Linked DNA regions of Homo sapiens: all the other regions are linked to region 2. The links are contacts of gene promoters, found by promoter capture Hi-C in blood cells and fetal thymus (Javierre and others, 2016). All regions are on one chromosome and are shown on one strand. Each heading gives the region's core, a stretch centred on a gene start or on the middle of the fragment in contact. The rest is flanking DNA. Distances are from core to core; before and after follow the strand shown.

Evidence for each region. The method cuts DNA at HindIII sites, captures the fragments that hold promoters and counts their contacts. A CHiCAGO score of 5 or more calls a contact.
Region 1: a contact is called between a fragment that was not itself captured here and the fragment with the promoter of ARL5B in region 2, in 1 of 17 cell types (total B cells). The highest score is 7.9, in total B cells.
Region 3: a fragment that was not itself captured here is called in contact with the fragment with the promoter of ARL5B in region 2 in 2 of 17 cell types (total B cells and total CD4 T cells); the score reaches 9.9 in total B cells.

What each region holds. Positions count from the first base shown.
Region 1 is chr10:43,138,486-43,141,308 of GRCh38, reverse strand. It overlaps CSGALNACT2 (chondroitin sulfate N-acetylgalactosaminyltransferase 2), which reads right to left. Exons shown (of 8, transcript NM_018590.5): 1 at 2,742-2,823. Among named protein-coding and RNA genes, the nearest start is that of CSGALNACT2, 1.5 kb to the right of the region's middle. RefSeq lists silencers at 2,328-2,397, 2,508-2,823. The HindIII fragment of the contact is 1,792 bases long and covers 400-2,191 here.
Region 2 is chr10:18,658,039-18,660,738 of GRCh38, reverse strand. ARL5B (ARF like GTPase 5B) reads right to left here and starts at 1,308. Exons shown (of 6, transcript NM_178815.5): 1 at 1,056-1,308. The coding sequence starts at 1,101. It also overlaps a transcript of NSUN6 not described here. RefSeq lists a silencer at 1,140-1,219 and enhancers at 1,530-1,659, 2,360-2,479. The HindIII fragment of the contact is 6,724 bases long and covers 1-2,265 here.
Region 3 is chr10:58,262,113-58,264,812 of GRCh38, reverse strand. The region is part of intron 1 of IPMK (inositol polyphosphate multikinase); the gene reads left to right. Among named protein-coding and RNA genes, the nearest start is that of IPMK, 4.4 kb to the left of the region's middle. The HindIII fragment of the contact is 3,933 bases long and covers 1-2,700 here.

The sequences.
Region 1 (2,823 bases), core at 46-2,545, about 24 Mb before region 2:
GAGGTGGAGCTCGCAGTAAGCCGAGATGGCGCCACTGCACTCCAGCCTGGGCAACAGAGCCAGACTCCGTCTCAAAAAAAAAAAAAATTATTTGTAGAGACAGGGTCTCATTATGTTGCCTAGGCTGCTCTCAAACTCCTGGAATCCAGAGATCCTCCTGCCTCGGCCTTCCAAAGTGTTGGAATTACAGGCATGAGCCACCACACCTGGCCCTTTCCTACTTTCCATGTTTAAATATTCAAGAATCAATTGCTTTTTTTCATGGCAGCCTGTATGTGTTCAGTAGGCATAATACCTTAACAAATTTGAAGATACTAATACTTACTTTAAAGCTTTCTTTTGTCTTACATTAGCTCCACTGCTTCAGTGCCTAGTTCTGTATTTGTTTGGTCTGAAGCTTCTCTTAGATGCTACCGATTTCCCACAAATGTTTAGTGATTTTTGTTGTGTGTTCACATTATAAATGTGCTAGTAGTATCTCAGTCCATATGAAAATCACTGTACTCCTGCTGTGAATTCACATTTGTAACTAGCCCTATAATTCAATTTTACACTTATACCTAGTGCTTGTGTAGCATGACAATAACAATGTAAGTTCTTTGACTTGCAGTCCCGTGATTCTTCAATCCACTTTCAGTCATATCCTTTTGGTATTTCATTTCCTCTAAAAAACCACTAACTTGAGTAATACAGTTCTTAAGTAAATGTTATGCTAAACTTCAGAGTCAGATCCTCACCAGCTCTAACAGACTTGTCTAACAGTTAAACAAACAATGACAGTCCGACAGAAGACAGTCATAAATGTGCAATTCAAAGGGTAAATAATAACATGGTAATGAATGAATCACTTACGTCTTGAACTCATAATAGTTATGCTTTTTTAAAACCAACCTTGAATGTTATATTAGTTAAAATAACAAATTCTATTACATTAAAAAAAAGATGACTCCATGTTGGTTAAATTTTCTGCCTTTGGTTGGTAATGGTATGGTTGGTAATGACTCCATGTTGGTAATTTTCTGCTTATGCCATGACTCAGTCATTCTATAGCTGACAGAAATGCATACAGATGCTCACCAAGACATTTAATTTACAAGAATGTCCACAGTACTCTTTTTTTTTTCTTTTCTTTTTGAGACCGAGTCAGGCTCTGTCGTCCAGGCTGGAGTGCAGTGGCACGATCTCGGCTCACTGCAACCTCCACCTCCCGCCTCAGCCTCCCAAGTAGCTGGGCTTACAGGCGCCCGCCACCACGCCTGGCTAATTTTTGTATTTTTAGTAGAGATGCGGTTTCACCATGTTTGCCAGGCTGGTCTCGAACTCCTGACCAAGTGATCCACCTGCCTCGGCCTCCCCAAGCGCTGGGATAAAAGGCCTGAGCCACCACGCCAGGCCCACAGTATTCTTAATATCCAAAACACATCATATACAAAAATTGGGAACATAAATGTCCATCAACTGAAGAGTAGTCACATATTATTCAATAGACTATTACACAGTAATAATACAATACCATGAAATAGCATGGGTGTGTCCCACAAACAATATGCTGAGAATACTACGTGATTCCATTAACATGAAGCTCAAAACAGAGAAAACTAAAAGCAGATAAGAGAAGTTAGAATACAGATGGGAAAACAAGGATATAACTGACTTGGAAGAAGCACAGGAAAATAGGATGATGGAAATGTTCTATGGTTATAATTTGATATATCTGGTGGTTCCACAGGGTAATAAGTATGTAAAAATTCATTGAGCTGTACAATTAAGATTCGTGCTCTTATTGATTTCATATGTATTTTATGCCTCGACAAAAACAAAGAGAAAAATGCAGCTTCTAAACTGGTTGGAACTGTGTTTATTTAGGCCAAAATCCTCTGAGCCACAAATACTGGAAATCCATCTTTTTTCATTCTTTTAGTTACATGACAACTTTAAACAAATGGTACAAGAACAATAATACAAAATGAACGCTAACACTCAGTCCTAAAATACTTGGCTTCTTACTTCCAAGATCGAAGCTACTATTTTAATACAACATTCAAAAAACAACATTAATTACCAGACATGAAGGCCCTGCTCCCGCGAGCCTTGAATGACGGTGAAACGTCACGACATCCCATATCTATCTCAAAAGCACGCTAGAAAATACCTCCAAGTTTAACAAGCCAAGGACTCAGGAAGAGAAGCTTCAGATGTATAATCAAACTATCATACCGCCAATACCATCATCACAAACAGAAGTATCACTGTCGTGCTTCCTGCGTTGCTCAAGGGTAGAGTCATTTTTAAGGTGCATTCTCCGACAACGCCAGAGGCTCCCCATCTCCTCCGCCCCACTGAGCCCTCCACGACAGAGCATCTTTACCGGCGCTCGCTCTGCCATCTACAGATAAAGAGGGGCTGAGGGCAGAACTATTTTAACGCGATGACGAGGTCACCACTGATTAAAAAGTTTATCCACTGAGAGGAGCAGAGATGGTGATGAATAGGTAAAAACAAAACGAAACAAAACAAAACCCAACACTGACAAGCGAACCAATCGTCTCTGGCCGCGCTTTCCCTAAAACCGGTGCCGACTCCGGCAGGCTCATCCCTGAGAGACAGGGCCCCCCGCAGGACCGGTCCGCTAGGCGACCCCACCCGACCACACAGGAGCCCGCAGCCCCGGCGCCCGCACCGCCCGGGCCGGAGCCGGCGGGAGTCGCGGACCGGCGGGCGAGGCCGGGCCAGGTACTCACCGCGCTCGCCCGCTCTGCGCTCCACCGCCTCCTGCGCCGCGGGGACACCCGGGCGGCGCCTCACGCCTTGGGCCCGCCGCCG
Region 2 (2,700 bases), core at 59-2,558:
TATATATACACATGTGTGTGCCTGTATCTATATTTATAACCTTGAAAAAGACTGCTTTAGTGTTCTTATCAATCTACAGAACAAGTCAACTAAAGCCATTCCATTACCTCCACAACTTCTTAAATCCAGAAAAAGATTAGATACCTACATTAGCAGTAACAAATTGGTACCAACATAAAAGGAAATAAAACTGGCTTATTAACGATGCCCGGCTCTTAAATGTAAAATGAAACGAGTTGATTTTCAAAACTGGTTTCAATTACTAAGAAACCATTCTGTTCAAAGGACGCCTCAAACTTTAACTTATCGTCGGCCCCTTTTTTGGTCTGGGTGTTTTCTCTCTTCAGAAGACATCACATCTCATTCTGATTCAGAACAGGTTTTGCAACTTCTCGGCCCTTTGGACCTGCCACTTCCAGGTGTCTCATTACCTGTTACAGACTAATTACGGACACGTAACGTCTTACACAAAACCGAAAAGCATTTAGTTTCTGAACTAAATGCTTTAAAAAAAAAAGTTTACAATGAAGATGCTGGAAAACTCGTGCATCTGAATAGGACAACTCATTCCCAAGTCCTAGAGGAAAGGAGGCGAAATCAGAGTGAAAGTGCACTGGCTTACGGCTCAAACTGCAGGGCGGGAAAACAAAGCACCTACATTACTCAAAAAAAAAAAAGTTCTAGGTTTCTGGGCGGACACTTATCCTGGGGATACACATAGACACAAGCACGCTTCAATAAAGACGAGAAAGGCCCTCCATACGCCTCCTGGCATCATTAGCTGTATCCCGCTTTACTTCGCCAATATCCAAACATTCTCAGTTTGGATTCTGGGACGCCAAATACCTTCTCTTCTGCCTCCCTATTTCTCCCACACGTCAGGTCTCTCCTGTACGTCCTCCAGGTCTAAAACACTGAGTTTCTGCCCGCCCCCTGGCCTAAGTCCCTTCCTCCTCCGCGTCTCCGAACGCTCTGTCCCCTGTCTCCGGTGTCCCCATCGGCGGCGGGACCCTCTGCCTCGGATTCGAGCCGCCGCGCAGCTCCATTCTTCTCACCTTGGTTACAGAAGAGGCTCCACAGTTTGGCGAAGATCAGCCCCATCACGAGCACCGGGGCGGGCCGCGGGGTCCCTCGGCAGCAGGTGCCGCTGCGCCGGGTCCCCCACCGCGGCGCGGGCTGCGCGGAGCCGAGGAGAACCCGCCTGAGATCGCGCAGCGAGGGCACTGCTAGGCCGAGAAGCCTCGACCCGACCACTCAGAAGGCGCCGCGACGAATCCCCACCGGACAGCCCTTTGTTTCGAGCCCACTGAGCCCAACGCCGACCCGTAGTCCCCTCGGTCTGTACCCACCTACCTACCACAGCCTCTCCACAGCCCCAAGCCCCGCCTCCACCCCGCCTCCCCTCCGGATCCCAGGACCACCCATCGCCGGAAGCTAGGCGCGTGACGACGGCGCACTTACGGCAACCCACGCCTTCGACGTGGCGTTTTCTTCGGTTTCACTTCCGGTAGGAGAGTCCCAAACGGCCAGCGGCTGGGAATTTGCGGTATCGCGGGGGGGTGGGAAATTTCCCTTGGTGCGTGCTCCTTCTGATGTCAGCCTTCAAAACGTTTGTGGGACTCCCCTTTGATTTGAGTCTCTGCTGCTAGCAGCTGCTTCCCTGACCTCTAAAACCAGGAAAGACCATAGGTTCTCTAAGTGAGCAGCCGCCGTTTGCTGCTCTTAGAAAACTCACAGAAGTGAAGAGTGTTTCTTTCCTGACTTATTCCTGTTCCCCTAGGCAGGCGTGCTAGGGGTTAGGAGTTCTGCCGTGATTCTTCTTCATTCATTTATTAATCTATTCATTCACGTATTCATTCATTGGCTTATGCATTTATGTACTCATTGATTGATTGATCGATTGCAGACGAGGTCGGGCTGTGTTGCCCAGGGGGACTCAATTTCCTGGGCTCAAGCGATCTTCCTGCCTCGACTTCCCAAAGTGGTGGGATTGCAGGCTCAGCCACCGCGCCCGGCCCCTGTCGTGATTCTTAGTTCTGAAAAGAATTGATTGGGAGACGAGCCATGGAAGGCCTGGAGCCACAGAGTTCAGTTATGTGATTAATAATAACACATAATAATAACACATAGCACCCCTCTCCATTTTGCCAAGCATTAGGTATGTTCGTGGATCCCAGATCGAAGTCCACGCATAAGCCAATTCGCTGTGTAATTGTTTTCAATTCCACTTTCCATGGTTAGGTTCTAGCATTGAAAAGAAAAGCTTCACAGCCTGGCATGAAACGAAACTGAATGTCCTTGAAACCAGTTGACGGAGGAGCAAGCTTAAAATTTTTTTAGACTCTGACTTCAGTCAGATGGTTGGATTTTAACCTTGGCAACGTGGCCTTTTAACATGCCAAACTCTTGAGTTAACCTGTACAAGGAGAATGTATGACTTACGTCCTCCCAGTGCTATGGTTTAAAGACCCTTTAAGACTTAGATGCAGGATAATATGCTCCAACGTTACAACATTAAAGGCAAGTTTCAACCTCCTATGTAGAGGAAAAAGAATGTACTGACCCTATGCAAACTTAACTTTCATGACTATCAGTTGGACCATAAATGTGAATAATTTTGTGTTTGTGTAAGTAATGGCTTAAAAGGACATTTTTAGTCCTAGCTTCATTATCACAAAACAAACTTTAGATTCCGTAACA
Region 3 (2,700 bases), core at 173-2,672, about 40 Mb before region 2:
TATTATACCTATATTTTTGCACTTACGGTATACTTTATTCTTTCTAAAAATTGTGTTCTACAATGTGGATGTATCACAATTTATTTAACTATTTCTGTAATCATAGATTTTTAGACTTTTCACCATTTGTTTGCTGTGATAAGTAATGTACTTATTAAACATTCTTGTATATAATAGCATACCTTGCACGTTGTGTACCTATCTCTGTAGGAAGTTTTCGCAAAAAAAAGATCAATATAAATTCCCAAAACTCACCAAAGTTAGCATAAAATTCTTTTAATATGTATCATTAAGTTCTTTAAAAAGTCCTTAAAGTTTTAAACAAATGATGGAAATCTGATATTTCTTGATCTGATGTAGGATGTAGAAATGGGGTAGTCTATAGGGAAAACAAGGATTTAAACTGATAATTGTTGTGGGGGAGAAAGACCTACAATTATCTTGGCTTAGTAGTCTCTTTTTATTAGATATCCTCTGAAACTAATTAACCTAAAATAATTTCAAGCCTACAGAAAAGTTGCAAGAACAATAGAAAAGTAACATTTTGCAAAATTTGTTTTATTATCTCTCAATGCAAATAATTTTTCTTAACTATTTGCAAGTAGGTTGCATACATTATGCCACTTTACATGTTAATACTAAAGTGTGTCTTCCTTAAGAACAAGGATATTCTCTTCTGTAGCCACAGCACATTGATCAACTATGGGAAATTTAACAGGGATATAATACTTTAATCTATAGTCCATAGTCTCACTTTGTCAACTGTTCCAATACTGTAATGTCTTTTATCACATTTGTTTTTCTCAGTACAGGATCTGGTCCAGAATCATTTATTGCAATTAGTTGTTATGTCTTTTAGTGTCCTTTCATTTGTAACATATCCTCAGCCTTTCCCTGTCCTTTATGACATTGTCATTTTGAAGAGTACAGGCCAGTTATTTTATGAAATGTTCTTTAATTTGGGTTTCTGATAGTTCCTTACGATGGGATTCAGATGATACTTTTCCAGCTGGAACATTGTGTAAGTGGAGGCCAACAATAGCTGCCCTTTGGTAGTGGATTATTTCTGGTTGTCTGATTCAAGTGTAGTCTGGCTTCTTCAGTATATCGTTTTGTTTGTTTGTTTTTTGAGACAGGCTCTTGCTGTGTCACCTAGGCTGGAGTGCAGTGGCGTGATGTAGTTCACTGCAGCCTCAAACTTCAGGGCTCAAGCAATCCTCCTGCCTCAGCCTCCTGAGTAGCCGGGAGTATAGGTGCACACCACTAGGCCAGGCTAATTTTTTTTTTTTTTAACGGAGTCTTGCTCTGTTGCCCAGGCTGGAGAACAGTGGCGCGGTCTTGACTCACTGCAACCTCCGCCTCCCAGGTTCAAGTGATTCTCGTGCCTCAGCCTCTTAAGTAGCTAGGATTACAGGAGTGCACCACCATGCCTGGCTAATTTTTGTATTTTTAGTAGAGACGGGGTTTTGCCATGTTGGCCAGGCTGGTCTTGAGCTCCTGGCCTCAGGTGATCCACCCACCTCTGCCTGCCAAAGTGCTGGGATTACAGGCATGAACCACTGCTGGGCCAGGCTAATTTTAAAATTTTTTGTAGAGATGGGATCTGGCTTTGTTGCCCAGGCTGGTCTTGAACTACTGGCTTCAAGTGATCCTTCTGCTTCAGCCTCCCAAAGTGCTAGGATTACAGGAATGAGTCACCATGCCTGGCTTCAGTATATAGTTAATGTTTTCTGTTCTACATTTAATAAGCTATATGTGAGGAGACACTTTACAGTCATGCAGCTATCTGGATTCTCATCAACTTCATCCCTAGATTTGGCATCTGTTGATTCTTGCCTGAAGCTGTGTTTATTCTGATAGTTACAAAATTGTGATTTTTTCCCCCCATTCTTTCACTCCCTCTGCTTTAACAGCTAGCATTCCAAGAAATAGCTCTTCCTTTACCCTTAAGTATTTATGTCCTTATTTATAATCAGTTTGCATCATGGATTCCTATTTGATAACATGTATCATTACCCATTATGGAACTTATTTATTGGACTTTAATCACATCTCAATGTTTTTAAAAAAGGAACTTATTTATTTTGTTGCTCAAATGGTCCCAAATTTGACCATTGAGAGCACTTCCTTTCTGTCATAACAGATTTTTTAGAATTATCTCATAACTTTCTTCCCCAGCCCTAGAGTCAACCATTTCTTCAAGGAGCCCTGGTTTCTTTTTAGTGGAAAATGGTATTTAGAAACCAAGATCTGTGTTACTAGGTATTGTCATAACTGTTGGAGTATCATTTCTTCCAGGACTTTTCAATGGACATGATTTTTAAAGTATGTATAAATATTTTAGAAATTATAATTTCATATTTCAAATTTCATTTAAACCCGAGTTCTTCCTTTCCCTTGATTCTAAATTTGTATTTCCCTTCTTCTGTAGTAAGAACCCTGGCTCCCAGTGATATTAATATGTTTATTCTTTTGCTTAATCTTACAATTTTCAGAATTTCTACACCCATACTACTTCAGAAAACAAGCCTAGAATAAAGAATTCAGGATGAGATTTTTTTATTTATTTATTATACTTTAAGTTCTGGGGTACATGTGCACAACGTGCAGGTTTGTTACATATGTATACATGTGCAGTGTTGGTTTGCTGCACTCGTTAACTAGTCATTTACATTAGGTATTTCTCCTAATGCTATCCCT